Linked DNA regions of Homo sapiens: regions 2, 3 and 4 are each linked to region 1. The links are contacts of gene promoters, found by promoter capture Hi-C in blood cells and fetal thymus (Javierre and others, 2016). All regions are on one chromosome and are shown on one strand. Each heading gives the region's core, a stretch centred on a gene start or on the middle of the fragment in contact. The rest is flanking DNA. Distances are from core to core; before and after follow the strand shown.

Region 1 (3,352 bases), core at 588-3,087:
CTTAGCTCTGGAGAGGGAGGAGGGTGAGGAGGGGTGGAGGTGGAAATCCCTGAGAAGGCTTCACTCCTCATAAGTGATTTGTTTTACTCCTTCTCTAAGAATTAGTATTCTGTTCCCATTGAACATAAAGGAAAACCGAGGCCATCAAAGGAGGGAAGTTTAAGCCAGAGCCAACAATTCTCCTTCACCCTCTCCATCAAAAAACACTACTGAAGGGTCTCCTGTCCTGGGGATGGTGTCATCTTGGTTCTGTAGGGAGGGAGGGAGAAACTGCTGAGCCCCAGGACAGAACATTGGAGGGATTGGATACAGGCCTCTGGGAGAACAAAGGGCTCCTGGCATCCTGGCTCAGCCCCCCCACCCTCAGCCCCCCACCAGGCCAAGCACGCTGCGGGCTCCTGCCTCCAAGAGCCGCCCACGGCAGCACTTATTATAGTCTCAGCTGCGTCAGGAGGGTGGGACGCCAAATCAGGGGACTGCTGTGACTCCCCAAGTCCCGGGAAGGGGTCTCCAAGGCTGCAGAGAGACCTTCCTTCGCCCATCTTACCCCACCCCCAAGGGGTCTCAACCTCTTTTCCACTTTGGCCTAACCACTTCAGGATTCTCACCTGGCTGGAGGATAGAGAGCCTTGAACTCCAAGACCCCTAGAGGGGTGGGGGACACGGAGCAGACGGTTTCCATTCACTCTGCCTGCCTCCTCTTTAATCTTCTGAAAGAATCCCACTCAGCAAACCTCAGGAGACTGAAAGGGAACCCTGAAGAGGCCGGCTCTCACTGCCTCAACTGAAGGGTCCTTATACTTGGGGAGTGAAATCCTCCACCTGTGGGTAGCCAGGTGTCAGGGCAGTGCCTCCACTAATTCAGCATCCCGCGGTTGGTCCCCTACCCACCATACACACGGATTCCTCTCTGCTTCTGCCCGCTGTTTCTGAGGCACTCTTGGAGCTACGGTTGCTATGGAGACTGGATGCATTTTGGCATGGGGGGGTATCAGTCTAAGACACATCCTTCTCCCTCCTCCTAGAGCTGGAGCCTTTGACTTACCCTGTGGCCTGGGCTCCTCCAGCACTCAGATCTCTCCCTTCTCTCCTACCCTGCTAAGTTCCATGTTTGTCCCCATCCCTGGGGAACATTTTCCAAGTTCACTTTGGGACAGTCGAGCTCAAGTCTTGGCCCCGTCAAAGTATTAAATGTGGTGGTGTGAGTGGGAAAGGGAGCTGGGTCATGAGAACGGGAACCGTCCAGGTACCTGGGGGAGACAAGAGATCCTGGGGGAAGGGATTTCAGGGCCCCCACTTTCCCACTTCATCTTCCCCAGAATTGGCAGTGACCCTGGGTTTGCTCTGTTTACCGCGGCCCCTGTCCACCCAATAGATCGATTTTCACCCTTATCCCTAAATGCCATACCTCACAATCGCGCTTCCTAACCTTGGTGCGCGAGAGGAGGGGGCTAGGTTGTTGGAGGAGGTGAGTCCAAGTCCCAGGAAATCCAGCCCAGGATTTGGGAGAGAAATCCAGCCCTGGATTTTGCACCGCCCTCGCAGACATCGGTGCTGGTGGAGAAAAGGTGGGGGGGAGATAGGGTGGGGGGGCCTGGGGGCCGCCTCCTCCTCAATGTGAGGGGAGCGCCCGGACACAGCGCGCATCCGGACCAAGCCGAGCCCAGGCGAGGCCCCCGGACTCTTCGCCCGGATCTCACGCCCCTCCCCTCCCAGACCCCAGACCCGTGGGTTCCCACCCACCTCCCGTTCCCTCTTTCCTCCCCCGCCGCCTCCTGTATCTCCATCCCCAGCATCCTCCCCGCGCCCCTGCGAATCCCCCGCACGGCCAGCCCCACTAGCTTCCCACCCTCCTCTAGACCCTCTTTCCGACCGCATCCGCGGCCCCTGTCCCTTGAGTCCCAATTCCCCGCCCCTGCCTCCCCCGCACAGGTTCGTTTCCCCTAGCCTCCGGTCCCCTTTTCTGCTCCCTTTTCCTCTCTCTCCCCCATTTGCCCCCACTACTGTCCTCCCCGCCCTCCCCCACCCATCTCAGCGCCCCCACCCAGGCCGGGGTGGACGGTCCGGCGCGCCTCCCTGGAGCAGCACCAAGGTCCCGGGGCTCCAAGAGGGTGGGGGCGCAGGGCGGGGAGCATGGGGAGGGGGCGCCCCATGTGATGGGAGGGGGGCGCAAGCGGAGGCGGCGGAGGCGGCGGCGACAGCGGAGCCGGGCCGGGGGCTCAGCGGGGTCCGGGGGCTGGGGGCAGCGAGCAGGGCGGCCCCATGGCCGGGCCCCCCTGAGGCAGTCCGGGGGAGTCCCCTCCCCTCCCCAGCTCGGGGGTCTCCGGGCCCCATGAGCCGGGGCGCGGGCGCGCTTCAGCGCCGGACAACGACCTACCTCATCTCGCTGACCCTGGTTAAGCTCGAGTCGGTGCCTCCGCCGCCGCCTTCTCCGTCTGCGGCCGCGGCCGGCGCCGCCGGTGCCAGAGGCTCCGAGACTGGGGATCCTGGCAGCCCCCGAGGCGCGGAGGAGCCGGGCAAGAAGCGGCACGAACGTCTCTTCCACCGGCAGGATGCGCTGTGGATCAGCACGAGCAGCGCGGGCACCGGGGGCGCGGAGCCCCCAGCCCTGTCCCCGGCTCCGGCCAGTCCGGCCCGCCCAGTCTCCCCCGCTCCCGGCCGCCGCCTCTCCCTCTGGGCCGTCCCTCCGGGACCCCCGCTCTCCGGGGGACTGAGCCCCGACCCCAAGCCTGGGGGCGCCCCCACCTCCTCCCGGCGCCCCCTGCTCAGCAGCCCGAGCTGGGGCGGCCCGGAGCCCGAAGGCCGGGCGGGCGGCGGCATCCCTGGCTCATCCTCTCCGCACCCTGGCACCGGCAGCCGGAGGCTCAAGGTGGCGCCTCCTCCGCCGGCTCCCAAGCCTTGCAAGACCGTGACCACGAGTGGAGCCAAAGCCGGCGGGGGCAAGGGCGCGGGTAGCCGCCTGTCATGGCCCGAAAGCGAGGGCAAGCCCAGGGTCAAGGGGTCAAAGAGCAGCGCCGGGACTGGAGCTTCGGTCTCTGCCGCCGCCACCGCCGCCGCCGCCGGGGGAGGGGGCTCTACAGCTTCGACCTCTGGTGGGGTCGGGGCTGGGGCTGGAGCCCGAGGGAAGTTGTCCCCTCGGAAAGGCAAGAGTAAGACCTTGGACAACAGTGACTTGCATCCGGGACCGCCTGCCGGCTCTCCTCCTCCGCTAACCCTCCCACCAACTCCGAGTCCAGCCACTGCTGTCACCGCTGCTTCCGCGCAGCCCCCCGGGCCTGCACCTCCAATCACTCTGGAGCCTCCAGCTCCGGGGCTGAAACGGGGCCGGGAGGGGGGCCGAGCATCCACTCGT
Region 2 (3,352 bases), core at 477-2,976, 440 kb after region 1:
GCTGGGATTACAGATGTGAGCCACTGCGCCTGGCCTGGTTTTTTTTTTTTTTAATAATGCAGATTTGCCTCTAATTATTAGACTATCTTTGCCTTTAAACTCTTGTACTGGTAGCAAAAAGACATAGTCCATAAAAATGATAATTGATAAGAAAAGGCAAACAGGATTAAAAAATAATATTTGGGCATATTTACTGAGATTCTGGAAAATTCAGCCCTGACTGCCCTTACCTGGAATTTATTTTCCTTAATAAAACCTGCTATATTTTGATCAGGACATTCAGTAAATACCTATTGATGATAGATGGCTTTTCAGTGTAATATTGATGTAATACTATGGCCCAGATTCTTTCTTCTGTCATTCTGATGAGGAATTTTGGGATCTAGCACATCAAGGTCATTCTGGATTTTATGTTAAAACCCTGGAAGTTTGATTTTGCTTTCCTATTCTTTTTTCTCCTGGTTAGGTTGTGGACTTCTGCTTAGGATTAGATAGCATGCAAAGCAGTTTCATGTATTTTAATTTCTTTTGTTGTGGTGGTTCTAGACTCCAGCCAGGAATATACGGACTCCACTGGAATAGACCTACATGAATTTCTTGTAAATACACTGAAAAAGAACCCAAGGTAATAACATGATGGGTATAAGAGGAAAAGGGGTTAGGGGATAGCAAGATTCCAAGAGGCCAAACGGCTTCCCAGAATTTTTCCATTCTTAGAATCTAGGATGCTCATCTTCCTGTCCCCCTAGTATTTGTCAGGTATAGTTTTATATTCTGTGAGGGATTCAAAATACTCTCACATTGAGGTTTCTGTTTTCAGAAGAATTGGGAAAACTTCTGTGAAAGAAGAATGCAGAAACAAAGAAATATGAAGTCTTGGGAGTATACTGATTAAAAAGCACACATTGGGAGTGATAGTAAGAAGAGCTAAAATAAAAAGCACAGAAGGAAAAAATAATTGATTTGTACATAAGCTAAATTATAATTCCTTTAAAATTGTTTATAACAAGATGGAATACAGAATGACGATTAGATTTATAACGTGTGTTTATATGAATATGTTGTTAACAGTGAGATTTCTGATATGGTATAACAAAGTATATGATTGGAGGACCTGCAAAATGTATACTCGGGTTGTTTTTCTTTTTAAAAATATTGTAAAACAGGCAAGTGAGGCTTAGCAGCATTATGGTTCATTACTGGGTTTGGATATATACCTTTTTCAGCTTCTGTAATGAGCAAGTTGTGTTTTCAATCCCCACTTTCAATGTCTATGGGAGGGCTGCTTTTTGTTTTGTTTTGTTTTGTTTTAATCTTTTTTAAACAGGGACAGAATGATGCTGCTAAAATTAGAACAGGAGATTCTGGAATTTATTAATGACAACAAGTAAGTTACTTGCATGAAATATATAATTAGAGGTGGGAGGGGGCACTGGAAATAAATTTAGGTACAATTTTAGGAGATGTTCCCCTTGAAGTGTGATTTTTGAAAACATACTGAAGTTTTTAAGTTATTATGTAGATTTGAGTTGAAAAATAATTTATATCTTTTCAGCAGCTTGCACTTGTCCCAGATTTTACTGTTCTTAAATGTCTTCCTTTTTCTTTGTCAAACATCATCCAGGTGGGTGGGACCTAGGGCTTAATAAGTAGTCTTTTTTTTGAGACAGTCTTTCTTTGTCGCCTAGGCTGGAGCGCCGTGGTACAGTCTTGACTCACTGCAATTCTGCCTCCTGGGTTCAAGTGATTCTTGTGCCTCAGCCATTGAGTAGCTGGGATGACAGGCACATGCCTAGCTAATTTTTGTATTTTTTGTAGAGACGGGGTTTCACCATGTTGACCAGGCTGGTCTTGAACTCCTGAACTCAATTGATCCGCCTGCCTTGGCCTCCCAAAGTGCTGGGATTACGGGCATGAGCCACTGCACCCAGCAATGAGTAGTCTTAATGAGGAAAGTAGGTCATAGTAATCTGCAGAATACTGTAGATAAAGAAACTGAGAAAAACCTATTTGGTTCCCATTTAGTAAATATCTATATTCCTTATAATATGTCTATTTCTCCTAAGAAACTTTCCACTTTAGACACTTGTAAGAAAAATTAAAATTGGTTGTTATTGCAGTTGTTTGTCTTATTTCACTTTTTTTCCCCGGGTTTCCCTTCAGTAATCAGTTCAAGAAGTTCCCTCAGATGACCTCATATCACCGGATGCTATTACACCGGGTAGCTGCCTATTTTGGGATGGACCACAATGTTGATCAAACTGGGAAAGCTGTCATCATCAACAAAACTAGTAACACAAGAATGTAAGGGAGGAAACCATGGTTTGGGAAGACTTCCCTGGGATAACCTGCTGGGTTGGAAGAGGAAGGTGTAGGATCAGGATGTCTCTTGCAGATGGCCAGGCGTGGTGGCTCACACCTGTAATCCCAGCACTTTGGGAGGCCAAGATGGGAAGACTGCTTGAAGCCAGGAGTTCGAGACCAGCCTGGTCAACACAGCAAGATCCCATCTCTATTACTTTAAAAAAAAAAAAAAAGTTTAAAAATGGCCGGGCGCAGTGGCTGACGCCTGTAATCCCAGCACTTTGGGAGGCCGAGGCGGGTGGATCATAAGGTCAGGAGTTCAAGACCCGCTTGGCCAAGATGGTGAAACCCCGTCTCTACTAAAAATACAAAAATTAGCCGGGCGCGGTGGCAGGCGCCTGTAATCCCAGCTACTCGGGAGGCTGAGGCAGGAGAATCACTTGAACCCCAGTGGCAGAGGTTGGAGTGAGCCAAGATCACGCCATGCACTCCAGCTTGGGCAATACAGTGAGACTCCATCTCAAAAAACAAACAAAAAAAATTTTTTTAAGTATTTTGCAGGGAAGGGGATTGGGGTTGGGGTTGGTTATATAATTAATTCCTACTCTTTCTGAGCCTTGGAGATAGATTCTAGAGAGACTGATGTTTCATGAAGTCTGGCCCTAGCCTCTCTTCACTTCACTGATAGGACAGATATAACTATGGAGGAAGAGAAGTTATAGATGTATAAAGTACAGACCCTGAAGATTTCATTAAAACCTGCATGTGACTTTTTGGATTCCTTACTCCAGAAATTCCCTGAGTGTGAGTTGTGTAATTTAGGAGAGCTGTACCTAATAGGTCTGCTTCCTAACAAAACGGTCTTTGTCCTCCTTTCCTTTCACATTTCTCTCCAAATCTCAGCCCTGAACAGAGGTTCTCAGAACATATAAAGGATGAGAAGAATACAGAATTTCAACAGAGGTTCATTCTCAAGAGAGATGATGCCAGTATGGACCGAGATGATAACCAGGTGAAGAATGGAAAGGGGTGGGCCTATATAGAGAGT
Region 3 (3,352 bases), core at 281-2,780, 420 kb after region 1:
AGCAATCATTTTCTGATTGTGATCACTGTAGGTTAGTTTTGCTTGTTCTTGAGCTTCACATAAATAGACTATTATAGTATGTGTTCTGGTGGCAGGGGGTGGGGAGGAGAGTCTACTTTCTTTAATTTATCATAGTAGTTTTGAGATCCATCCATGCTTTTGTTTTGTTTTGTTTTATTTTCCAAGACGGAGTTTCGCTCTTGTTGCCCAGCCTGGAGTGCAATGGCCCGTTCTTGGCTCACTGCAACCTCTGCCTCCCGGTTCAGGCAATTTTTCTGCCTCAGCTTCCCGAGTAGCTGGGATTACAGGCATGCCACCACCACACCCGGCTAATTTTTGCATTTTTAGTAGAGACGGGGTTTCACCATGTTGGTCAGGCTGGTCTCGAACTCCTGACGTCAGGTGATCCACCCAACCTGGCCTCCCAAAGTGCTAGGATTACAGGCATGAGCCACTGTGCCCGGCCCTATCCATGTTTTTGTGTGTCTCAGTATGTACAGTAAGGTTGAGCAACCTTTACCCAAAATGCTTGGGACTGTCTGTATTTCAGATTTAAGATTTTTTGGATTTTGGAAATTTTTTTAAATTTTGGAATATTATGGTTGACCATCCATAATCCAAAACCCAAAATTGGAAATGTTCCTATGTACATCCCTTGAGCATCATATTGGTGCTCAAAAAGCTTTGGATTTTGTACTCTTTCAGATTTCAGATTTTCTCATTAGGGATGCTCAGCCTATAGTTCAGTCTTTTTTATTATTAAATAATATTACATTTGTTTATTCTCCTGAGCCCCTAGATTTTAAACATTTTTTAAAATGTATCAATTGAGAGTAACTTATGATTGATAAACAAATTAGTACAGGACCGGAAAGCTTCCAAGGAATTTGCCACAGGGTAGACCAGAATTTTTAGCACCTAGATATCGTTGTCTTGCTTGCATTCTCTCTACTTGGCCATAGATTAAAAGTGAGAAAATGAAATTATTCTTCTGTCTCTGAATATCCCCTATCTAACATATTCCTTTTGGCTCAATGCCTAGAAAGTTGTTTATAAATTGATGGAAGGATATATAATCTCACTCTATTATGGAAGGTACTTACCCTAGCAGTAAAAAAAATTATAGGGAATATGCAGTATTCTCCCTGAAAAAAATAGGTGAATCTTGGCTTCCAATAATCTTCCCCTGTATTATCCTATTTCTTCACTGCCCCACCTGTTCCCCCGACATCTCACAGTCCCCTCTGTGCAGCTTTGAGCTACTGAGTATCCTCAGGAGACATCTTGCCTTTGAAATTGTACTATTTGGCTGGATGAAATGTACACTGTACACAAATAGGTTGTAGGGAAGCACACATCTAGGCCCTCCTGGGAGCCTAATGTCTGCTTTGTTCTAGTCACCATTACATATGAAGTAGTTCCTTTCTTCTCCCATCAAAAACCTCCCAAACCCTTAATTTCTTCTCTATACCAAATAAACTATTAAGAATGGAATTACTTCTCTGCCTTTTAAGCTACTACTGGCTTTATTTTAGCTGTTTAAGGCTTTTTTTTTTTTTTTTTTTTTTTTTTTGAGATAGAGTTGCACTCTTGTTGCCCAAGCTGGAGTGCAGTGGAGCAGTCTTGGCTCACTGCAACCTCCACCTCCCGGGTTCAAGCGATTCTCCTGCTTCAGCCTCCTGAGTAGCTGGGATTAGCAGGCACGCACCACCACCCCCAGCTAATTTTTTGTATTTTTAGTAGAAACGGGGTTTCACCGTGTTGGCCAGGCTCATCTCAAACTCCTGACCTCAGTGATCCGCCCGCCTCCCAAAGTGGTGGGATTGCAGGCGTGAGCCACTACGCCCAGCCTAAGGCTTTTTTTAGTTGGTTGCTTTCTTTTGCTTTTGTTTTGGCCCAGAAAAAATTGTTTCCAGGAATCTTTATGCCCCAAGAGTAACGAGAGCCTTCTGCATTGGCTGAAAGGACTGGAAATGACCTTAATTAAAGGTTATTTTGGAAAGCAAAAGAGAGCCTCAGCCTAAGAAATACAGTTTTATGCTTAGTTTATCTTCCAGTGGATCTTAACTCTGTATTAGTAACAGTCTGACCCCTCATTACTCGCCTCTGCCTACTTTCAGGGCAGTTTCTTTTATCCTAGAAGAAAATGGTAAGGAGACTTAAAGCCATGTGATTTGAAAGCTTGACTTAAAGAAGCTGGGAATGTTTAGAGAAGGAAATAAGGTAAAGTTTTCTTTTACAAAGAGCTGATAGGGAAGCAAGATTAAGCTTGTTCTTTATGACTCGCACAGAAGGCTAAACAGGGGCCGGTGGGAGGAACTACCAAAGAGGTAAATTTTGCCTCTTTAAAAGGAAAGTGTTCCAAAAAGAAATGGTTTCTTTCTGGAGGTGAAGACTTTCCCTTCACTAAGAGGTATACAAGCAGGGACATTTTTCACAGTTACTAATGAGTTAAGAACCTAATTATGGAAGACTACGGTTGTAGAAAAATGGAGCTAAGGCTGGGCGTAGTGGCTCACGCCTGTAATCCTAGCACTTTGGGAGGCTGAGGCGGGCAGATTACTTGAGGTCAGGAGTTCGAGACCAGCCTGGCCAACATGGTGAAACCCCTTCTCTACTAAAAGTACAAAAATTAGCCGGAAATTGCTTGAACCCGAGAGGCGGAGGTTGCCGAGATCATGCCGCTTGCACTCCAGCCTGGGCAATAGAGCGAAACTCCATCTCAAAAAAAAGAAAAAGAAAAATGGAGAATGAGAAAGCTTCTAAATACCCTTACAGTTATGAGATTCCATGATTCCCTTGTGTCTTTGGTAGACTTTCCTTTCTGGTTTTTGACTATTTCTCCCCTTAGTTAGAGGCAGTATTGTATAAAGTTTAAGAAAGCAAGTAACAAAGCCAGATTTTCTGGATTTGAGTCCTGGCTCTGCCATATGCCAGTTGTGTGCCCTTTTAAGCAAAGTGTTTAACTTCTCTGTGCCTCAGTTTACTTGTCTGTAAAATGGTGATAATAGTAAGAATAAATATGTAATAGGATCATTGTAAGATTAAATGAGATACATAAAATATTTTAGGATAGTGCCTGGCACAATGTAAGCACTCAAAAGTTTTAGCTGATTATTATTATTATTGCCTGTCTCCCTGTCAGTTATTTCTTTCTTTCTTTTTTCTTTTCTTTCTTTTTTTTTTTGAGATGGAGTCTCGCTTGTTTGCCCAGGCTGGAGTGCGGTGGCACGATCTCAGCTCACCACAACCTCCGCCTCCCAGGTTCAAGCGATTCTTCTGCCTCAGGCTCCTGAGAAGCTGTGACTAAGGCACACACCACCATGCCTGGCTAATTTCTGTACTATTAGTA
Region 4 (3,352 bases), core at 568-3,067, 260 kb after region 1:
TGGCCTCAGTTTCCTCCCTCATTGTCAGGGACCAGCGGGTAGCCGGCCCGAAAGTAGCGTGGACCTGCGCGGGGCGGCCCTGGCGCACGGCCGCCACCTGTCCAGCCGCCGCAACGTCCTGCACGTGAGCGCCCTCCCGCGCGTCCCCAAGGCCCCACCCGACCCGAGGGCGCCCCCAATCTCCCGCGCAGGCCTCCCGCTAGGTCTCCCTGCTTATTATACTCCTTCCCGTTGACCCGAGCGTTTCCTTGCCTGGCCCTCAGATCCGCACGATCCCTGGCCACGAGTTCCTGCTGCAGTCGGACCACGAGACAGAGCTGCGAGCCTGGCACCGCGCGCTGCGGACTGTCATCGAGCGGCTGGTTAGATGGGTGGAGGCCCGGAGGGAGGCTCCGACCGGCCGGGACCAAGGGAGTGGGGTAGGAACGATAGGAGTCAGGAGCAGTTGGGGGCAGGGTGGGCTCAGTGGAGAGCCCTTGCCTGGGCCGGGATGTGGGACCCCGGCAGTGGGTCAGAGTCCAGCTAGGGATACAGATTTCTCTCCTCTCTCACCTTCGACACGGCCCGCCCCGGGTCTAGGATCGGGAGAACCCCCTGGAGCTGCGTCTGTCGGGCTCTGGACCCGCGGAGCTGAGCGCCGGGGAGGACGAAGAAGAGGAGTCGGAGCTGGTGTCCAAGCCGCTGCTGCGCCTCAGCAGCCGCCGGAGCTCCAGTGAGGCGCGGGCTGGGGAGGGAGAGTCCGGGAGCGCAGCGAGGCTCCCGGGCGCTCACGCCCCGCTCTACCTGCCTCCTGCAGTTCGGGGGCCCGAAGGCACCGAGCAGAACCGCGTGCGCAACAAACTAAAGCGGCTCATCGCGAAGAGACCGCCCTTACAAAGCCTGCAGGAGCGGGGTCTGCTCCGAGGTGAGGGGGCTGGGCCAGGTTCATGGATAAGAAAACTCCAGCGAGGCTCAGAGTAGAGCTTCCCAGAACTAGACCACAACCTTCTGTGACTGCTGCTTTCCCACTACCCCAGATTGTTTAGGGGAGAAGCTGGGGTGACCTGTACCCCTTTGCCAGATTGTTTGAAGCAGGGGAAGGGAGGTGGAGTGTATTTCCTTGCCCAGGCCTGGCACAGGCAGCCAGGAGGACCAGCCTCACTTAAGGATAAAGACCTATGCTGAGAAGAGCTCCTGTGAGTGACGCTGGCACTGGCTTCCCGCCTCACTCTACTTCCCCAGACCAGGTGTTCGGCTGCCAGTTGGAATCACTCTGCCAGCGGGAAGGAGACACGGTGCCCAGCTTTTTGCGGCTCTGCATTGCTGCTGTGGATAAAAGAGGTCATTTTCTCAGAGACCCCAGAATCCTCTTCCAACAGGCTAAGGCCTAGAATTTTCTGCCTCCCCCATTCTACCTAGTCTTCCTACTGCCCTTTTTCTCTCCACCCTTATATCCCTCACCACACACACTTTCAAGCAGCAGTCCTTATCTACTCCTTCCTCATCTCCCAGGTCTAGATGTGGATGGCATTTATCGGGTGAGCGGGAACTTGGCAGTGGTCCAGAAGCTTCGCTTTCTGGTGGACAGAGGTGAGAAGGCTTGTGGGCCAGTGGTTGTACTAAGAATGTCTTGCCTGAGAACCATGGGCGGTCCTACATGAGGAAGCTGGCAGAATAGAGAGGCCGTCAGGCTGGAAGTGTATGTCTTAGCTCCTGATCTCTCCTCATTCATGTTGCAGAGCGTGCGGTCACCTCCGATGGGAGGTATGTGTTCCCAGAACAGCCAGGACAAGGTACTTACATGGAAGACCCTTCAGATCCCTAAAACTTCCACATATCCTCTTTGCTTCCCGTGGAAACCCCCATGTACTATTCCTGGGAGGGTTGTCCTCATCCCCACCTTAGCTACCTTGCCCCACTGCAGACCCTCTAGGCATTCCTATAGTCTGCTTTGACTGGATTTCTCCAGAACTTCTAATCTCTCAGTCTCTAAATCTTTCTGGCCCTTCATGAGCCCCTATACCTCCTTCTCCCTCCAGAAGGTCGGTTAGATTTGGACAGTACTGAGTGGGATGACATTCATGTGGTCACCGGAGCCCTGAAGCTTTTTCTCCGGGAGCTGCCCCAGCCTCTGGTGCCACCACTGCTGCTGCCCCATTTCCGTGCTGCCCTTGGTAAGGGTTGGAGCTTTGGAAAGAACCCTTGATGTGGGGGACACGGGTGGTAAATAATAGAATAGAGGTTCCCTTATACTCTTCTTTCCCATTCTGACTTTAGAGATGGAAAATAATGTTCAACTCAGGTGCCTACTCCAGTTGCTTTTTTGTGAATGTTTAGAGGGCTGAATTGAAAAGAATTATGAGGCTATAGTTGGGCTATGTGAAAAAGAAAGCTGTGCTAGATTAATGATGTCTTCCATGCCTGTGGGAAAGAGCAGTGCATTTACCCATCCTGTCCTAGCACCTTCCCTAACCTTACTACCATGCCTTTCCCATCACTCTCTCTAGCACTCTCCGAATCAGAGCAGTGCCTCTCTCAGATACAAGAATTAATAGGCTCAATGCCAAAGCCCAACCATGACACTCTACGGTACCTCCTGGAGCATTTATGCAGGTCAGGAAGACAGAACCTCTTTGTTCATGCTGGGGAAAGGTGGAGTGGGGAATGCCACAGGGACTCTGTGCAGGTGGAGTGAAGGTAGGGAAGCACCTAAGTTTAATGGGCAGGTGAGGAAGCAGGCAACCTCTGTGCAGGAGCATATTACCAGAGTCAAAACCTTTATTTTTTTATTTTATTTATTTTTGAGACAGAGTCTCGCTCTGTCACCCAGACTGGAGTGCAGTGGCGCAATTTCAGCTCACTGCAACCTCTGCCTCCCGGGTTCAAGTAATTCTCCTGCCTCAGCCTCCTGAGTAACTGGGATTACAGGTGCCCGCCACCACGCCTGGCTAATTTTTGTATTTTTAGTAGAGACGGGGTTTCACCATGTTGGCCAGGCTGGTCTCGAACTCCTGACCTCAGGTGATTTACCCACCTCAGCCTCCCAAAGTGCTGGGATTACACCGTGCCCGTCAAAGACTTTAGGTCAAAACCTAAAGGTCAGCATCAAGTGGGGAAATGGAACCAAGATGCTGTGAAAGGAATAAGGGAAATCTTACTTCTCCCTTCCCTCTGCCTCTTTGTCTCCCATTGGGACATTGCTGATGGCTTCTTTGGTTGAACTGGGCCTGGGCAGTGACTTCTGAGAGAGGATGGCCACTTGAATTAAAGACTCCCAAACTGTGAGCAGGCAGAACTCTTGGGGCAGCCCCTGAAGTCGGAAGAGGCAGTTATATCTTCAGGTTGTATCCTGAAGGTTTCTCCACTGGTCCAT

What was found. Contacts are between HindIII fragments. The CHiCAGO score rates a contact against its expected background, and 5 or more counts as called.
Region 2: a contact is called between a fragment that was not itself captured here and the fragment with the promoter of AGAP2 in region 1, in 1 of 17 cell types (M2 macrophages). The highest score is 5.9, in M2 macrophages.
Region 3: a contact is called between a fragment that was not itself captured here and the fragment with the promoter of AGAP2 in region 1, in 1 of 17 cell types (erythroblasts). The highest score is 5.5, in erythroblasts.
Region 4: a fragment that was not itself captured here is called in contact with the fragment with the promoter of AGAP2 in region 1 in 12 of 17 cell types (total CD8 T cells, naive CD8 T cells, naive CD4 T cells and 9 more); the score reaches 9.2 in total CD8 T cells.

The regions. Positions count from the first base shown.
Region 1 is chr12:57,737,227-57,740,578 of GRCh38, reverse strand. AGAP2 (ArfGAP with GTPase domain, ankyrin repeat and PH domain 2) reads left to right here and starts at 1,837. Exons shown (of 19, transcript NM_001122772.3): 1 at 1,837-3,352. The coding sequence starts at 2,333. RefSeq lists a silencer at 2,465-2,684. The HindIII fragment of the contact is 3,748 bases long and covers 1-3,352 here.
Region 2 is chr12:57,295,363-57,298,714 of GRCh38, reverse strand. It overlaps R3HDM2 (R3H domain containing 2), which reads left to right. Exons shown (of 24, transcript NM_001394031.1): 7 at 547-625; 8 at 1,328-1,387; 9 at 2,164-2,304; 10 at 3,208-3,316. Among named protein-coding and RNA genes, the nearest start is that of STAC3, 46 kb to the right of the region's middle. The HindIII fragment of the contact is 6,535 bases long and covers 1-3,352 here.
Region 3 is chr12:57,318,483-57,321,834 of GRCh38, reverse strand. All of the region lies in intron 2 of R3HDM2 (R3H domain containing 2), which reads left to right. Among named protein-coding and RNA genes, the nearest start is that of STAC3, 69 kb to the right of the region's middle. The HindIII fragment of the contact is 1,306 bases long and covers 878-2,183 here.
Region 4 is chr12:57,472,843-57,476,194 of GRCh38, reverse strand. It overlaps ARHGAP9 (Rho GTPase activating protein 9), which reads left to right. Exons shown (of 18, transcript NM_032496.4): 9 at 29-124; 10 at 264-362; 11 at 580-712; 12 at 797-904; 13 at 1,222-1,320; 14 at 1,492-1,569; 15 at 1,719-1,772; 16 at 2,019-2,153; 17 at 2,487-2,592. Among named protein-coding and RNA genes, the nearest start is that of ARHGAP9, 5.3 kb to the left of the region's middle. RefSeq lists an enhancer at 1-294. The HindIII fragment of the contact is 536 bases long and covers 1,550-2,085 here.